6 separate regions of the Homo sapiens genome follow, and regions 1, 2, 3, 4 and 5 are each linked to region 6. Evidence: promoter capture Hi-C in 16 types of primary human blood cells and fetal thymus (Javierre and others, 2016). All regions are on one chromosome and are shown on one strand. The core of a region is centred on a gene start or on the middle of the fragment in contact, and the rest is flanking DNA. Distances in the headings are between cores, read along the strand shown. Region 1 overlaps RBM26-AS1 (RBM26 antisense RNA 1). Region 2 overlaps RBM26 (RNA binding motif protein 26). Region 3 has its middle 220 kb from the start of RBM26. Region 4 overlaps OBI1-AS1 (OBI1 antisense RNA 1). Region 5 holds the start of NDFIP2 (Nedd4 family interacting protein 2). Region 6 holds the start of OBI1 (ORC ubiquitin ligase 1).

The links. Contacts are between HindIII fragments. The CHiCAGO score rates a contact against its expected background, and 5 or more counts as called.
Region 1: a contact is called between a fragment that was not itself captured here and the fragment with the promoter of OBI1 in region 6, in 7 of 17 cell types (non-activated CD4 T cells, naive CD8 T cells, total B cells and 4 more). The highest score is 8.1, in non-activated CD4 T cells.
Region 2: a fragment that was not itself captured here is called in contact with the fragment with the promoter of OBI1 in region 6 in 6 of 17 cell types (total B cells, naive CD8 T cells, naive B cells and 3 more); the score reaches 8.6 in total B cells.
Region 3: a contact is called between a fragment that was not itself captured here and the fragment with the promoter of OBI1 in region 6, in 1 of 17 cell types (total B cells). The highest score is 5.1, in total B cells.
Region 4: a contact is called between a fragment that was not itself captured here and the fragment with the promoter of OBI1 in region 6, in 1 of 17 cell types (M2 macrophages). The highest score is 6.7, in M2 macrophages.
Region 5: a contact is called between the fragment with the promoter of NDFIP2 here and the fragment with the promoter of OBI1 in region 6, in 3 of 17 cell types (non-activated CD4 T cells, naive CD8 T cells and total CD8 T cells). The highest score is 5.8, in non-activated CD4 T cells.

What each region holds. Positions count from the first base shown.
Region 1 is chr13:79,409,027-79,411,726 of GRCh38, forward strand. All of the region lies in intron 1 of RBM26-AS1 (RBM26 antisense RNA 1), which reads left to right. Among named protein-coding and RNA genes, the nearest start is that of RBM26-AS1, 4.1 kb to the left of the region's middle. The HindIII fragment of the contact is 5,354 bases long and covers 1-2,700 here.
Region 2 is chr13:79,331,378-79,334,077 of GRCh38, forward strand. The region is part of intron 20 of RBM26 (RNA binding motif protein 26); the gene reads right to left. Among named protein-coding and RNA genes, the nearest start is that of RBM26, 74 kb to the right of the region's middle. RefSeq lists an enhancer at 1-295. The HindIII fragment of the contact is 630 bases long and covers 1,082-1,711 here.
Region 3 is chr13:79,189,107-79,191,806 of GRCh38, forward strand. No RefSeq gene overlaps it. Among named protein-coding and RNA genes, the nearest start is that of RBM26, 220 kb to the right of the region's middle. RefSeq lists a silencer at 1,837-1,946. The HindIII fragment of the contact is 3,275 bases long and covers 1-2,700 here.
Region 4 is chr13:78,133,313-78,136,012 of GRCh38, forward strand. All of the region lies in intron 1 of OBI1-AS1 (OBI1 antisense RNA 1), which reads left to right. Among named protein-coding and RNA genes, the nearest start is that of OBI1-AS1, 80 kb to the left of the region's middle. The HindIII fragment of the contact is 1,738 bases long and covers 506-2,243 here.
Region 5 is chr13:79,479,781-79,482,480 of GRCh38, forward strand. It overlaps NDFIP2 (Nedd4 family interacting protein 2), which reads left to right and starts at 1,375. Exons shown (of 8, transcript NM_019080.3): 1 at 1,375-1,744. The coding sequence starts at 1,424. It overlaps NDFIP2-AS1 (NDFIP2 antisense RNA 1), which reads right to left and starts at 1,451. Exons shown (of 3, transcript NR_046685.1): 1 at 1,372-1,451; 2 at 56-150. The HindIII fragment of the contact is 10,753 bases long and covers 1-2,700 here.
Region 6 is chr13:78,657,823-78,660,522 of GRCh38, forward strand. It overlaps OBI1 (ORC ubiquitin ligase 1), which reads right to left and starts at 1,333. Exons shown (of 6, transcript NM_024546.4): 1 at 1,227-1,333. The coding sequence starts at 1,298. RefSeq lists enhancers at 1-701, 612-691. The HindIII fragment of the contact is 7,616 bases long and covers 1-2,700 here.

The DNA of each region.
Region 1 (2,700 bases), core at 170-2,669, 750 kb after region 6:
CTCCTAGGAGAAATGCAGGATTAGGTTCCTTCAAGCCTCTTATTAAATGTTTGTCAACCAGCCCATAAATACCTTGTTTTATGTGTGTTTCTTTTTAAAGGCACCTTATGTAGGAAAAAAAAAAATTTTTAAGGCACCTTATTTAATATAGTTGATTCATTAACATTGAACTCACAGCCAGTGGCACTATAACTCATGCTTACCTGGCGTATGTATTTTCTCTTTAAAAAGAAAGAAGAGCCTTCTGGCACTTAGGGACCCAGATAGCCTCATCACTACACTTGGGGGGCATTTTAAACAGTGAAATCACAAAAAGGTCAAAAATGCAACAAATGTGGCCTTAAATAGACCATGAAAAGGACACTTGTTTCCAGTGTGAGAGCTAAAACAGGAAGGCAGAGCATCCCCTTGTTTCACCAAAGCTGGGAACATGTGCATCAGGTGACTCAAATTTTTTTGCCTCTGTTCATGTCGACAGATGACTGCAAAAGCATTCCAAGTATTGATTTGGGCATTGCAAATAAATTTTAGCAAGTAGGCAAACTCACAAATACAGAATCTGTAAGTAATAAGGATTAACTATATTTTTTGAATGACCAAAGGAAGCCGTACCACTTCCATGAAACCTTTCCTGGCCACTGTGGCTGATAGCAGTATCTTCCTCCTCTAAATTTATGGTACAGTGCTTATTATCACTTCACAGTTAGTCATTTTTGCTTCCTAGAATGCTTCTCTTCCTTAACCATTAACATTTATCCTTCATTTATCCCTGCTTCATCTTCTTTGGCCCTGCCTTCAAAGGCGACAATTAGCTGATGTAATCATCAATTCTACTAAGAGAAGACTAAACAGCTGCTGTGGACTACTTTCTCTATTCAGTAACATGTACATTTTGGAATGTCCAGTATCAGGTTGCCTGCTTAACGTTTTCCAATACACCATGTTCTTTCAAGGCCATGTGACTTTATTAGCACTGTTCCTTTTGCCAGAATGATTTTCCTTATTGCTCAAATGTCAGTACCTCAATGATACCCTGGACAAAGGTCTAGCTCCCTACCTGTAGAACAGGAGTTAAAACATTTACTGGGAAGAGATTGTGAGGACAGATAAAAATAAAACATTTTATTTAGTTTTCTCATCTTTCTCGGCCTTGTGAGCTCTTTTAAGGACTGGACTCAAGTTTATTCCTCTTTCTACGTCCTGCACTTAACTCAGTGTCTGAAACTCAAAAAATGTTTATTGAAGACACATGCTTCGTTTTAAATAGGAAGGAAGCAGAGGCAGGAGAAAATATTTTAGATAGGCAAGAGAATGATATGCCCTCTAACAGATCTGTATTTCTTTATGGTTTATTACCATAAGTTGCCTTCATCTTTTAGCTGCACCAATCCCAGGAATATTCTCTATAGTGTGCTGAACTCCTCCTCAGGTTTTTCCAGCTCTCTCCTCTAGTTGAATACAGTCTTACTACTCTCAATAGTGCTTTTGAAGTCTTGTTTAAAAACAGTCAGCATTTCCGGATCAAAAAGAGATTCTGTATTTTCTTCTATTTCTTTTGCAGTCCATTACTCTACTTAGAATCACACTTAAGTATTTATTCTCTCTGTAATACATCCCTGTTTGTGGTGTAAAGTGAGGATCTAGGCCATTTTTTTTTTCTATAAGTCTACTCACTCAGTTTATTCTTTCCTGTTGATTTTTTTCTTTTTTTTTTTTTTTTTTTCCTGGGACAGAGTCTGACACCATCTCCAATGCTGGAGTGCAGTGGCGCAATCTTGGCTCACTGCAACCTCTGCCTCCCAGGTTCAAGCAGTTCTACCTCAGCCTCCCAAGTAGCTGGGACTATAGGTGTGCACCACCATGCCCATCTAATTAGAGAGGGCGTTTCACCATGTTGGCCATGCTATTCTTGAACTCCTGGCCTCAAGTGATCGGCCCGCCTCGGCCTCCTAAAGTGTTGGGATTACAGGCGTGAGCCACCGTGCCTAGCTTCCTTCCTGTTTGATTTTTGATGCCACTTATATCTTTCTGTTTTCATTTCATTTGTGTTCTGCTTCTGACCTATTTTTCAATTGGTCAGCTTGTCTGTGACTACTCCAGTACTATGTTGCTTTTATTTACTATTGTATTATAGAATATCTTAATATATAATAAGGCAAATCCCTCTTCTTTGCTCTTTTTCAAATTTAGCTTGGCTAAATATGAATCTTGGTCTGGCACAGTGGCTCACACCTATAACCCCAGCACTTTGGGAGGCCGAGGCAGGCGGATCACTTGAGGTCAGGAGTTCAAGACCGGCCTGGCCAACATGGTGAAACCCCATCTCTACTAAAAATACAAAAATTAGCCAGGTGTGTTGGCACACACCTGTAGTACCCAGCCCAGAGGCTGAGGTGGGAGAATCGCTTGAACCTGGGAAGTGGAGTTGTCGGTGAGCCGAGATTGAGCCACTGTACTCCAGCCTTGGCGACAGAGTGAAACTACGTCTAAATAAATAAATAAATAAATAAATAAATAAATAAATGTGAACCTTTAGTTTCCAAATACATAGAACAAGATTGTTGAACTTGTAAACAAAAAATTCTTCATCATTGAAGTTATGGATTAATTTGGATTGAATTGACATCCTACAGTGTATAGCAGTCACAGAGGTGTGCAGCTCAGATCTCCCTTCAAGAAAGGACTCACTGCCCAACTGCA
Region 2 (2,700 bases), core at 147-2,646, 670 kb after region 6:
TGGGATGCTGAGGCAGGTGGATCACGAGGTCAGGAGATCGAGACCATCCTGGCTAACATGGTGAAACCCTGTCTCTACTAAAAATACAAAAAAAAAAAAAAAAAAAATTAACTGGGCGTGGTGGCAGGCACCTCTAGTCCCAGCTACTCGGGAGGCTGAGGCAGGAGAATGGCATGAAGCCAAGAGAGGCGGAGCTTGCAGTGAGCTGAGATCACACCACTGCACTCCAGCCTGGGCAACACAGCGAGACTCCGCCTCAAAAAAAAAAAAAAATTGTACCTCTGTGAGTTTGGGACTATAGGTTTCATTTTTGTTCTGATTCTTCTAAAACAGCAACTTAATTATTCCTATTCTGAACAGGATCTTGGGCTCCTACAAAGGTACAGTAACAATTCAGTGCAGAAAAGATAATATTCAAATCAGTCATGGAAGAGACGACTGCTTTACTCTTGTCTGAGTACTTATCCAACTTTAGTACTTTGGCATGGTGATAGACAAAAAAATAGAAAATAAGGTAATAGGAACCATCTTCTAGGTAACAAGGCAGAGTCAAACCATAAACCATCTTAACCTAAAGCTAACAGTGTTCTGCTTATACTGATGGTCTTTAAAATGCTTCAATATTTTTCCTGAGGAAAACTTCTCACTTTTCAGTTATATCTGAATGTCTCAATTACCTTATTTATTCTTGTACTTTCATCTTGAAATACTATGCATCTATTGATTATAGAAAATAAATTCATTCAGTCATCTAGGATAATGGTCCAGAAAACAAGAACAATGTAATGTTTGACAGTAAACATTGGCAAGGGCTGACAGTTTTTTCTTGGGAAGGCCTATCCTTTACTGCGAGTTCATGTTCTCCTACATTTTCAGTGTTAAAATTTCCTTTATTTTATATAACAATGGTGATAGAACATGACAATCTTTTTGTATTTTTAAAGTATTCTTCCCTGGCAAAATAAAAAGTTGATACCTCTATGACAAACACACAAATTTTTAAATTCCTAAACTTTACTGTTCCCTGAAATCCAAAAGTTTGAAGACCACTGCTCTATATGTATCCTGCTTGTATAAGATAAGCTTCAACTTAATTTTCTATTCTTTTCAACATTACAAAATTTTAAGAAACTTTCTGGCTTAAGGATATGCTTATGCTTTAACAACTTTTGTAACTAAAAATCTAAACATTTATCATAGCAGTGGTCATTACTCTTTTTAGTCTATTAAGTAAATCCAACTAAAGCTATTTCCTCTAAATAGGTAATTCTCATTAGACCTAACTTGGCCTTAGTTATTCTGTCACTTATTCAACCTTCATGTAATTCAGTGCTAAAGTCTTCCTTATACATTAATCCCTGGTATTTTTTATTGTTATTAATTTTGAAAAATACATTGTATACACGCCTAAGGTACAAAAAGCAAGACCCAAGAAAGAAGGTACGTGTCAAAAGTCTTTCCGCGAGCAAAATTTCCAAAAATTATTTAAGAAGAGGTTTTAATTTTTTCTCAGCCATATAAGCAAGCAAGGGAAGTAGTACATATTTAAAGTTCTTAATAAATCCACAAATTTGGCAATATCTGAACCATTTGTACAGTAACAACTATCATTATTTTATAATACCACTATTCCCTAGAAAATACATAAAACATAAAACTACCTATCTAGCAAGAGACTAAAAATTATCAACTGAAGCCACCACTGAAAGGAAGCTTACTCTAAACTTGCACTTAACAATACCCTGGAGAGAACATTTAATCAAAGATCTACCTTTTTCAATATAACATACACACATACAAGCTTATGAGTTTTAAAATCTCATCAATTTTAAATTACTTTTTACTTTCACAAAAGAACATTAAAGAAATGATTATTCAAAGCTAGCTTTAAAAAGAGAACACCCTAAGATCAGGAATTCCTATTTTATAAAATAATATACTACCCCCTACCTCTACCCCCAAAACTAGATTTTTTCAAGGCTCCAGTTGAATGACTTATCAGACCCATAGTCTTATGGTTACAATGCCCCAAGGGCAACTTCTACCAGGTAAGCAATGTACCACTGTGCTGGCAGAGAACATTCACTACAAAGAGGATAAATAAATGTAGAGGTTTTTTCAAAACTTATTTAAGTTGAAATCAACTTAAAACTTCTGAAAAGCATCTCACTCTTTCATTGCTTTCATTTGGAAAACTATTTCATCCCTGGAACAATGGCAAGGACAAAACAGTGACACTGTCTTCTCTACAATTCCTGAAGAAAGAACACACAGGGCAAAAAAGGCTCCTATGAATCCCCTACACCTCACTCCCATTTTCCTTTTTTTTTAATCTTTGAAACCCAAATGAAAGACAAGGTTGCAGATATTCCGGTCAGTCCTTGGAAAGACAATTCAAGATTGATAGTTTAAGGTAACTTTACTAAGAGTACCCTCAAAGTTAGAGGTATAGACCATGTCTTAGGCAAAAAGTCATAGAAGTCTAGTTGGGGCTATGCTGAACTAGGGACACTTCTTTTAGAGTTCAACCTGATGAGACCAGGAAGCAGTAGATGAGGAATGGCTAAGATGGGCAGACATTAGAACTGCTTGTACCTTATCCCTCACCACTCATTCTGCCAAAGCAGATCCTGTTTTGGGTCAGCTGAAAAAAAAGAATAATGGGTAGTGGAGTGGCCCTATCTACTATGAAAAAGAAAG
Region 3 (2,700 bases), core at 71-2,570, 530 kb after region 6:
AGCTGGGACTACAGGCATATGCCACCATGCCCAGCTAATTTTTGGTTTTGTTAATTGTTTGTTTTTGTTTGTTTGTTTGTTTTTTGTTTTCGCCATGTTGCCCAGGCTGGTCTCGACCTCCTAGGGTCAAGCAACCCATCCACCTTGGCCTCCCAAAGTCAAAATATGCTCTTACCAAGTCGAATTTCTCCTTGGTAGGCAGGACACTGCCAAACTTACCTTTTATGCTTTTTCCTTCTTCCATGTTTTCTCTCATCACAACTTTTTTATTTATCACCTTCTAAACAACACATCTTCAAATGATTCCTATTATCATAGAGCCACCACTTTTGTTTATACAAAATATAAGCATTCCCCCTCTTTAAGTTTCAGGATCCTTTAAGAAGAGATTTTAAAGAACCAATTAAACATGCTATAACTGAAAATGTTTCAAAATGAAATTCTAAGCATTGTCCAAATGAACTACATCCCAAACTTTCACAAAACACAGTAGACTACAAACCATCTCCTCTCTCCTTATATTGGTCTTTGTTTATAAGATTACTAGTATAGAACCTTACACAGAGTAGAAACAACCTCTATACATTGTATAAATATGGGCAAATTAGCCAAACCTCAAGGTTCTAAGGCCTTTGGTTCATTTGTTTCATATAGCCCATGGACCCAAAGTGGTGGGACTGATTTCCACAGAGAAATCTATCACAGGACAGCAACATACATTGTTCTCTTCCATTCTTGAATTTGACAAATGTAAGTAATGTTATAACTGACTCTTTCTAGAATTAACAGTGACATTTTTTGTTTATAAATTAAATTACAGCCAGACACAGTGACTCATGCCTGTAATCCCAGCACTTTGGGAGGCCGAGGTGGGCAGATCTCTTGAGCTTAGAAGTTGAAGACTAGCCTGGACAACATGGTGAAACCCCACCTCTACAAAAGATTTTTTAAAAATAGCTGGGTATGATGGTGTGCATCTGTGGTCCTAGCTACTTAGGAGGCTGAGGTGGGAGGATGGCTTGAACCCAGGAGGTGGAGGTTGCAGTGAGCTGAGATATTGCCACTGCACTCCAGCCTTGGCAACAGAGACAGACCCTGTCTTCAAAAAAATAATAATAAATAAAAACAAATTAATTAAATCACTTTGCCTTTAGTTAACTTACCATAATCCTTTGTTAATCAATATATAAATTCTCATTAGTCTTCTCTATAATTTCCTTACATTTACATTGGTTTCTAAGTTTGGATAACTTTAGAAGGCTATTTGTGAGGGTATTAATTGATATTATTGGAGAGTAGCAGAAGAGACCCTGCTGCTTTAAAATATGAAACACAGGGAAGATCACCTGGTTTGTAAATGATCAATGCTAAGTCATTTGTGAATTTTGGCAAAGGTGGTTTAATTTACTCTAACATTTTACTTATTTAACAAAGTCCTCATGCAGTGCTCACTGTCTGCCAGGCACTGCTCTGTGTGCTTAATCAATATGTACCATCTATGCAGAAGTTACTTTTTAAAAGTATGATGTTGAAACTATCAGTATTCTTTCCTTTGAAAGATGAGTGACAACAACAGCAAAAAACTATATTCAGCCGCTTTGTTGTGTCATGAGCAAAACAGAAAACAAATTAGCATCGATGGCATTGGCTTTCATGTAGATTAGAATACCCTCTCCTGGTATTCTTACGTATTCATAGCATTGTAACAACTGATGGTTTTTAAATTTCTCTACAAATCAATCCAGATTATGAAATCTGATGATCAGAACACCTAATTGTCACCAATCCAAATTTACCTACTGGAAAAAAGTGTTTTTTTCATTATATTTCTATCTTACATTGATTTTCTTTCCTGTTGAGAACCAAATTTCAAGCATTTACAGACTCCAGGTGGTTCACACCTCCTAGAAAGATTTCTCTAGAGAGCCATTTACTTCATTTTTTCAGTTCCTGCAGTGCCAGTAAACCTCGCAGAGGAAATGTTATGTAGAGGGAAGTGAACAACAAGGGAGGTGACTCCCTAAAACAAATGCAATAATAATTCAACACACTCCAGCCACACTGCAATGCAGAAACCAAGTAAACAAGCCATTGCTTTCGCATTCACTGTGCTAAGATGTGAGCATATCTGCATTATACCTGACAGAATCAACCTCTGAACAGCAGAGAGCTCAATGGTGCCAAAGCAGAAGTTGGCAATAGCACCAACAACTCTAGCACTTCTTGTTCCTATCCTCTTCTGTATAGTGCTTCAAGAAATAGGTCCCACCATAAGAAAAACAACAACAACAACTAAAGATGAGACTTCTGCAATCAAAGAGGGATAGAGTTAGGCTTGTCACACTTATGAGGAAGTTCAAAGCCGAAAACACAGGGCAAAACAAAGTTAAAGATAAAAGAACTGAAAGGCAATGCCATCTATGCTGATACTGAATTCCATTTTAGAAAAAGAAGAAATTAAGTGGAGGAACTTGTTGGAAGGGAATGCTCTGCTCTTCTTTATTTCTTATGTTTTCTTCCTATGAAACAAACATGTTAGTGTCACTCCAGCCTCTCCCTGCCCCCTTCCTCACTGCAGTCTGGGGGAAGAGGAGTGGCATGTGTGCTTGCTAAATTTGGAGAAGAATTTGGGAACTTATCTGGCCTATGCCAGTCAAGTGACACCAAAATGTGGGAGTGAGGAGCAAGTCTGTCCAGTTC
Region 4 (2,700 bases), core at 125-2,624, 520 kb before region 6:
AGCCTATTGGGACCAGCTTAATTCTATGACATATTTTAACTAGGCAAGATCCTCATTAATGCCAGGGACTTTTCGGAGTCCCAGTCATATCCCCTTACGGAGATAGTTTATCCATAGTGTGTAGATCTGCAATAGTATAGGATTTACTGCCAAGTTCTTTCTCCAATTCATTCCCTACAGTAGAGGTCTACTCTGATTGGTCGAGTAGTTTAATCCCTATCCATATACCTTGTTATATTAGGAGTATTTGCTATTGTCTGTGTATGTGGAGATTTTTGAAGCTAAAATTTTTCCCCACCCTTCCAGAAGAAGCACAGTGAAGAGCTGCCCCTGTATTCAGGGTGCCTGATTCTTTCATGCTCCGGGGCATATTGTTATCACCAGCTGCAGTCAGGGGAAAGAAAAAATCTCCGTCCCTCTTATGTAATATAGTACAATTAGGCACATAATGTAGATTTTATGCTTTTCTCTGAAACATCTGGCATGTACTGCTTACCAAAACCAAAGCTTGGAGAGCCAGACCTCCTGTAGCATTTTAATATCAATGTGTCTTTTGACATAGTAGTTATCTAATGTTTGTGCCAGTTTTTGAAAACATCACATCTTAAATATCACCTCTTGAATGAGTGTAAATTCAAAATGCCTGCCAGGGGGTTATGTGTTTGTGGGAGGAACTAATATCTACCCTAATCTAAATACCAAATGAATTTTAGATTGTCATTCTAACCCAACATTAGCATTGGCCCTTGGGAAAATCATTGTTTATGTATTCTTTTCAGATACTCAGAATTAAGAGTCAATCTATTTAAACCTTGTTGCTAATATTACATCTATATTTCTGACATACTAGGAAAATGTGTACAGGGTTTTTACATTTGTCTACAGACAAAAAGTTACCAATAAAAAATTTTAACAAATTATCTTCAAATTCTCTAGAAAAAAAGATCAAGTCACTTGGTGGAAAAGATAAAATATCCTGAGATCCTTGTGAACAAAAACGTCTCTCACTGAGATCCATGATCTTCTTGTGGCAGGGCAATAGGGGTTAAAGTACCATTTCCAGCAAAACGTACTGCTCTAGCTTGTCAAGCCACCTTCAAAACATTCTGTGTTCCCATAAAATCCACATTGGAATAAATAAAACTTAAAAAAGAAACACAAGTGACATAAAAGTAAAACAAAGAATAAAATGAGGAAGAAAAAATTTATGTGGTTCATATATTCAGAGATTTTAGCAACATAATAAAATGTTGATAAAACATTTACACCTGTAGCTGCAAAATGGTTTGTATTCATTTACAAACCATTATTATTTGGCATTAGTCAGGATTCCATTAATTATGTTGAAATTTTAAAAGTAAATTATGGAACTGTTAGAACTACAGACAATGTGAGTGGACTCTAACATATTACAACATTAAAATGAAAAGTGTCATAAGTTACATAGACAATTTTTTTTTTTTTTTTAGAGGCAGGGTTCTGTTCTGTCACCCAGGCTGGAGTGCAGTGGCACAATCATGGCTCACTGTGGCCTTGAACACCTGGACTCAAGGGATCCTCCCACCTAGCCTCAGGAGTAGCTAGGACTACAGGTGCAAGCCACGACGCCCAGCTAAAATTTGTATTTTTATTTTTTGTAGAGACAAGGTCTCGCCATGTTGCCCAGGCTGGTCTTGAACTTCTGGGCTCCAGTCATCCTCCTACCTCGACCTCCCAAAGTGCTGGGAGTATAGGCATGCATCACCCTACCCAGCTAATAACTGTTCATTCCAGATAGTCACCTTAAGGTTTATTAATAAGTTTAACAAGGAGATTATCTGGATACTTATTTTACTTTGGAGTGTTGAGTTGACTCTGAACAGTACACAGTGCCTTGGTGCCATTTTGCTAGAGGTTTTGCAGAGACCTTAGGATGTTGTTCTTGAACTCTTAGGGCCTAGTTTTCTCAATTAAAAGAGTTGGTTACTGCAAATGGTTTCTAAGGTAGTTTTCAGATCTAAAATATTGAGTTCATGGATTTCAATATAATACTCTACAGCTCTCTACAACTGCGTGGTGAGTGCCTTGTTGTAAGAATGTTAAGTGAGTTATTTCTACATTTCGGTATTTTTATATTATAATGATTCTTAATAAGTATAAATTATCAGTGGCCACAACACTTACTATAAAACATGTTCAAAACAGATGGTAGTGCTGGATGTCTCTAAGTAAAAGAACAGATGGAGCAGGAGTTTAACCCTGGAAGCTTTGAAGGGTTTGAATGACAGAACTTATTTTTTACTCTAATTTAGGGAGAATTTGGTGTGAGGATGTGGTATACTATTTCAGCTATATGAAACAGTATACATAGACAGGAAAATACTTGAGTTCCAGCAATATGGCAGACTGACGCAATGTGAGCCACTTTCCACTAAAACTTGTGAAATGCTATATAAAATATAACAATATTGCTTTAGTAAAAATCTAAAGATGAGTTAGAAGGAGAATGTCTAGTTGCAGAGTCAAGGAGGTTAACCATAGGCAGAATGTAAGTGTATGAATTAGGGCTCTGGTTCTTGGGATATTGATAATCAAATATACATCCAACAGGGAAGCCATGCCATGAGGCCCAAGACATAAAGTTAGGCCTGGAAGGGTTGCCCCTTTTTTCTTTTCTTTTCTTTTCTTTTCTTTTCTTTTTCTTTTCTTTTCTTTTCTTTT
Region 5 (2,700 bases), core at 125-2,624, 820 kb after region 6:
AAAGAGTTTCTGTTTTTATTCTATCTTGCTATTTTAACCAGTTGATTAGGCTCACCCAGTGGCAGTCTTCATTTCAAGGATCTCCTCTGGACATTCATGAAGGAAATAAATGGGGCTCCAGATCCCTTTCCTTCCCTTCAGGGCGCTCCACTGTAAGATCATTTAGGGAAAATGTGGTGTTATGTTAAAAACATAGCTGGGCCACATCAAGCAGCATCATAGTTTTTAGGGTATAGAACGTTGGTCTTCAGGTTAAAAGGTACTTTTCGCTGCTCTGTCATACTCTTCTACTTGCTAGAGAAATATGCTTTATGCCGTGTCATGTGTGGTTAACCAGACAGTGAGATACTACTAACAGTGCTCCCAAGTGATTCCTTGCTGTTAAATCAATTGGAATTATTGAGTATTACCACAAAATAATCCTATCTGATTTCATTACTTTCTTCTAACGTCCTTCCAGTAACCTAGAACTCTAGAGACCTCTTTCTTTGAGAGTTGTCTGGAGAGTCCGTTGGATTTTTAAATCTCTTATTACCAAAAAGTGGAAAAAAGAGTTTAAAAAGTAACCAAAGAGCTAGTGCCTGTAGTCTCAGCTACTCCAGAGGCTGAGGCAGGTGGATAGCTTGGGCCGAGGAGTTCGAGGCTACAGTGAGCCATGACTGCGCCTGCTAACAGCCACTGCACTCCAGTCTGGGCAATATAGTGAGACCCCATCTCTAAAAAAACAACAAACAAAAACAAAAATTACCCCACAGAAGAATTTCAGGGCAGTGGAAATACTCTGTAGGATACTATAATGATGGATACCTGCCATTACACATTTGTTCTAACTCGAGGAGTATACAACAACCTGAGTGAACCCTGAGGTAACTATGGACTTTGAGTGATGATGAGGTGTCAATGCAGGTTCATCAGTCGTAACACATGTACCACTCTGAGGGGGGATGTTGATAATGGTGGGGGGTTATGCATGCGTAGGAGCCAAGTGTATATGGGATATCTCTGTAACTTCTCAATTTTTCTGTAAACTCTAACTACTCTATATTAGTCTTTAAAAAATCGCTTATCTTACGAATGATTTTGAATAAGCGTTTTGGGAATGTTCTAGAGATGAATCTCCTCCCCATGTCCTACGCTGGGTGAGGAAGTGTCGGGTACCCGGGCGACCTGTCCTCAGGTGTTCTAGGAACGCGGCCCCATCCCTTGTCAGCCTCTGTCTCTGTGTGGTGAGAAGGCGCACTGGCTCGTGCCTGCGCGAAACTCGCGCACACAGAAAAGACCAATCAAGGACGGGTCATTCCCGCCCCCCGCGCGCCTTTTGCGACCGCCCACTCGACAGGTTGACAACCTAGACAGCTCCCCCGGACTTGCCTTACTTTTCCATCTCCTCCCACCCAGCTATACCCTCCCACTGGCGGCGCGGATGGCACGCCGGCGGAGCCAGCGAGTCTGCGCGAGCGGTCCGAGCATGCTCAATAGCGCGCGCGGCGCCCCGGAGCTTCTCCGCGGAACCGCGACCAACGCGGAGGTCTCGGCGGCCGCTGCGGGAGCCACAGGAAGTGAAGAGCTTCCGCCGGGAGACCGCGGCTGCAGGAACGGAGGCGGAAGGGGCCCTGCGGCGACGACGTCGTCGACGGGGGTGGCCGTGGGAGCTGAGCACGGAGAAGACTCCCTCTCTCGGAAGCCGGATCCCGAGCCGGGCAGGATGGATCACCACCAGCCGGGGACTGGGCGCTACCAGGTGGTGAGTTCCCGGCCTCCTGTGCCTCCCGGGACTGCCTCCCGCCGCGGCGTCCCGAGAGTCCCTTTCCTCAGGTTATTCCCGGAGGAAAAGCTGTGGCTTTTTTTTGTTGTGTTTTGTTTTGTTTTTTTGGATCTTCTGGCTGGAGCTGCTTCACTCGCCTCACCTGCGCACTCCTGCCTAGGACTCCTTCGAAACCCTTCTCTCTCGCCCCAAGTCTGCTTAGCTCCTCACCCGCACCCTTAGCCCCGCTGTGAGACGCCCTCCCTCCACACACCTTACAACTTGTATCCGTTTTAATTTCTCACTTTATCATTTTCTTATTCTCTGACTCAGTCACTCCTGAGACATTCTAGTCGATTGTCTACTGGAAATGGGGCTGACTTCACATACCTGCCCGGAAGGTGATCGCCGTCATAAATGGGGTGGGTGAGTAGGTGGGTGGAGGTGTAAGTACTGCGTGGGGTGGGATGTGGATTTGGCAAAAATGTGGGTTAGGAATTGTGGAACTGTAGAGAAAGACTAGCCATAATGCTGATCTTGTCTCTCTGCTCGTTAACCTTGTCATTTTGTCCTTTTCCATTATGTTAGTATTAAAAATGACTGTATTTTTTGGTAATCCCCACTTTTTCTTTCTTTCTTTCTTTCTTTTTTTTTTTTTTTTTTTTTTTTTTGGTTAGAGGGGAAACAGAGGTAGTTTTAGTAGAACAAATTCTAATCTTGTTTGAAAAATTATTTTTCGTTAAATACAAGGTTTTCCAGCTTAACTGTGTAAACTTTGGTAACTATGTTGAAAAAAGTGAAATGTGTTCCTCTATATTTTCAGTGTCAATTTTTAAATATATTTTTCTTTGTGTATTCTGGTGGTGACGTTGGAGATTCCTGTTGTAAACCTTAGTTAAAGATGGACTGAGCAATAGTTGACTCTGCTGTTGTGCTGTTGCAGCTAGGTAGCATGT
Region 6 (2,700 bases), core at 83-2,582:
AAACATCGCTTCTTCCCTCCCCCTAGCCGTGCAGGCAGTAAGTAATAGCTCAATGCCAGCTCAAACACCATCCTCGATGAGGCCATCCTTGATCTCTCCAAATTGATCAAGCCATCCCCAATCCATGATCTCCCAGCACATTTGCTATTTCATTGGCATTTCATTCTGACTGCTATCCAGAATTATCAGTTGCTTCCAATGCTGACTTTCTTCTACTTTTTGAATCCAGTAAATTCACACAGAACTTCAAACACCCCAGGCAGATCGTATTGGCCGGCACTCAAATGCTTGCTCTAGAAGTTTGTATTTCTCAAATCTGAGTCTACGGCTCAGTCTGCGCTGGGGGGTAAACACACACCCTGACACACCACAGACGTAAAAATAATTCAGGGTGGAAAAAAGTTGGTGGTTTATCTTTCCCCTTCTTTATCTATTCGGTAAAGAAATGCTCTTTAAAACACCGAAAGTGAGGCACAAATGGAAATGAAAGAGGAGAGGAATGCATTAGAATATTCAAAGCTCCGTTTCTAATTCAGAACCACTTTCCCTACCTTGTTTCACAAACACACTAGGCACCTCTTGCATCACAAAGAGAGAGTATTCTATCTCCTGACTGACCCATTCTTGGAGTTAAAAGCCACACCTCTTATTCTAATACCCTCCAGGAGCACTTACTATTTACTTTTCAAATTAGGAATTCAGAGCAAAGGTCATCCTCAAGGCCAGGATAAAGGCAAAAGGTCTTGGAAATGGAAAAGACTCAATACACAGCACCGTAGGCCCCAGAGGATGAACACTAGTTACAGAGGACTAAGAAGCCCGAGGTGAGGCTCCCAGGAAATGTGTTTTAATGGGCTTCACTACACGCCACGCGAGGCTGCAGAGGGAAGTTAAATATCCCTGCGATGCGTTTCTGATGGGGCCTCCTTCGAGGCCGGTGTCTTGCCAGTGTGAGGCCGCGGGCGGTGGCAGGGCCGTCTCGCCGCCCTCCCGGCAGACCACGGGCCGCTGTCACCCTCCTCCGAAAGGCGCCCAGATGAATCCATTAATCACGGTGCGCTACCCCCATCTCCCAGGACGCGGCCTCCCATCAAGAACGCGGGTTAGCGTTTTCTCCCATCTCCGCGCCTCACGCCCCTTCCCCGCCCCCGCACGAGACGGCCCTCGGCCCCGGCGAGCGACTTATCCAACCCCGTTTTGTAGCTGTGCCCACAATCACCCATTACCTTCCCCAAGCAAATGTGGCACGTGATGGGCAGAGTGAGCGACAATGTAACATTCTGCACGGTCTGAGCCATGGCAGCGTTCAGAATCCCGCCAACACGGAAGTCCCGCCGACCTACCGCTACTCTTCGCCAAGACTGGGCACGCGCGGGCCGGCTACGGCGCCCCGGTAGGGCCATAACCCGCCCAGGAGAGAAAACGAAAACGCGCTTTCGAAACGCGCGATCTCCAAGGCGTTTTCCTTTCATTAAAAAAAAAAAAAAAAAAAAGAAAGAAAGAAAGAAAGAAAGAAAATTCACTGATTAGGGAGCTGCAAGATTCCTGCGAATGTGTAGGAAGGTAGTTTACTACAAGTATCGAGGATCTTGGAAAATCTAAAGGAAAGCGGAATAGTGGAGACAGAAGAGGAAGATACGGAAAGGCGATTTTTTAAATCCCCAAATTGTTTTCGGGGATTGGATGGGGTGAAGGATGGAGAGTTTTTCGCCTAATTATTAAACCCCACACATCCGCCAACACAGCGTAATCAAAACATAGAGAAAAGACATTATCTACACGTTTCAATTTTTTTCAAAACAGCTTTCCACCTCTGTCAGTTCTCTTTCCACTCAATATAATGTGCTTCCAGAGGGCACAATAATTCACTTAAGAAAACAGTGATTGTCTCCTTATCTGTGTCCGAGACGATCCTGATACATTTAATCGCAGCTTTCCCTGAAAATACATTTTTACTGTGGGCTTCTCTGGGTTTTCCACCAAAAGGAGATTAACGTTTTCACGTCTTCATTTCAGGTGCATGGTTGCATATGAAATGTACCGCTGTGTTGTTGAACCCCAAGGGAGAATTTGTGAGGTTATAAGTTGCGTTTCCTACCAACAAAAAAGAAAAAAACCTAAAAGTTCCTAAATTTATCTTAAATGCAGTATAACAAATTTGGAATTTATCTGCAACTTACTTGAAGCGAGGAAGAGCTGATGTGATAAATTACGCTAACAAGTAAAATCTGTGAGTTGAGAGATTTAAAGACAAGACCATCGGGACAACTTTTACTAATCTTTGTGAAAAAGACGCAGTATGACTTCAAGAAGCAGCCTCATGGTTAAGAGAAAGGGGTTCTGGACCTGGGCTGCTTCAGCGGAAATCCCTGCCCCCAACAACTTCCTACCTAAACGGTAGCTCCATGGCTTCTGGCAACTTTTGTTTTGTTTTTTGAGATAGGGTCTAGCTCTGTCACCACTAGGTGCCAACACAGCGACCTCCCAGGCTCAAGCGATCCCATCCGCCTGCCTCAGCCAGCCTCCCGAGTAGCTGGGATTACAGTCATGCGCCACCATGCTTGGCTAATTTTTGTATTTTTAGTAAAGACGGAGTTTCACCCTGTTGGTCAGGCTGGTCTCCAACTCCTGACCTCAAGTGATCCGCCTGCCTCGAGGGTCGGGGAGTGGTTTCCCCATGTTGCCCAGGCTGGTCTTGAG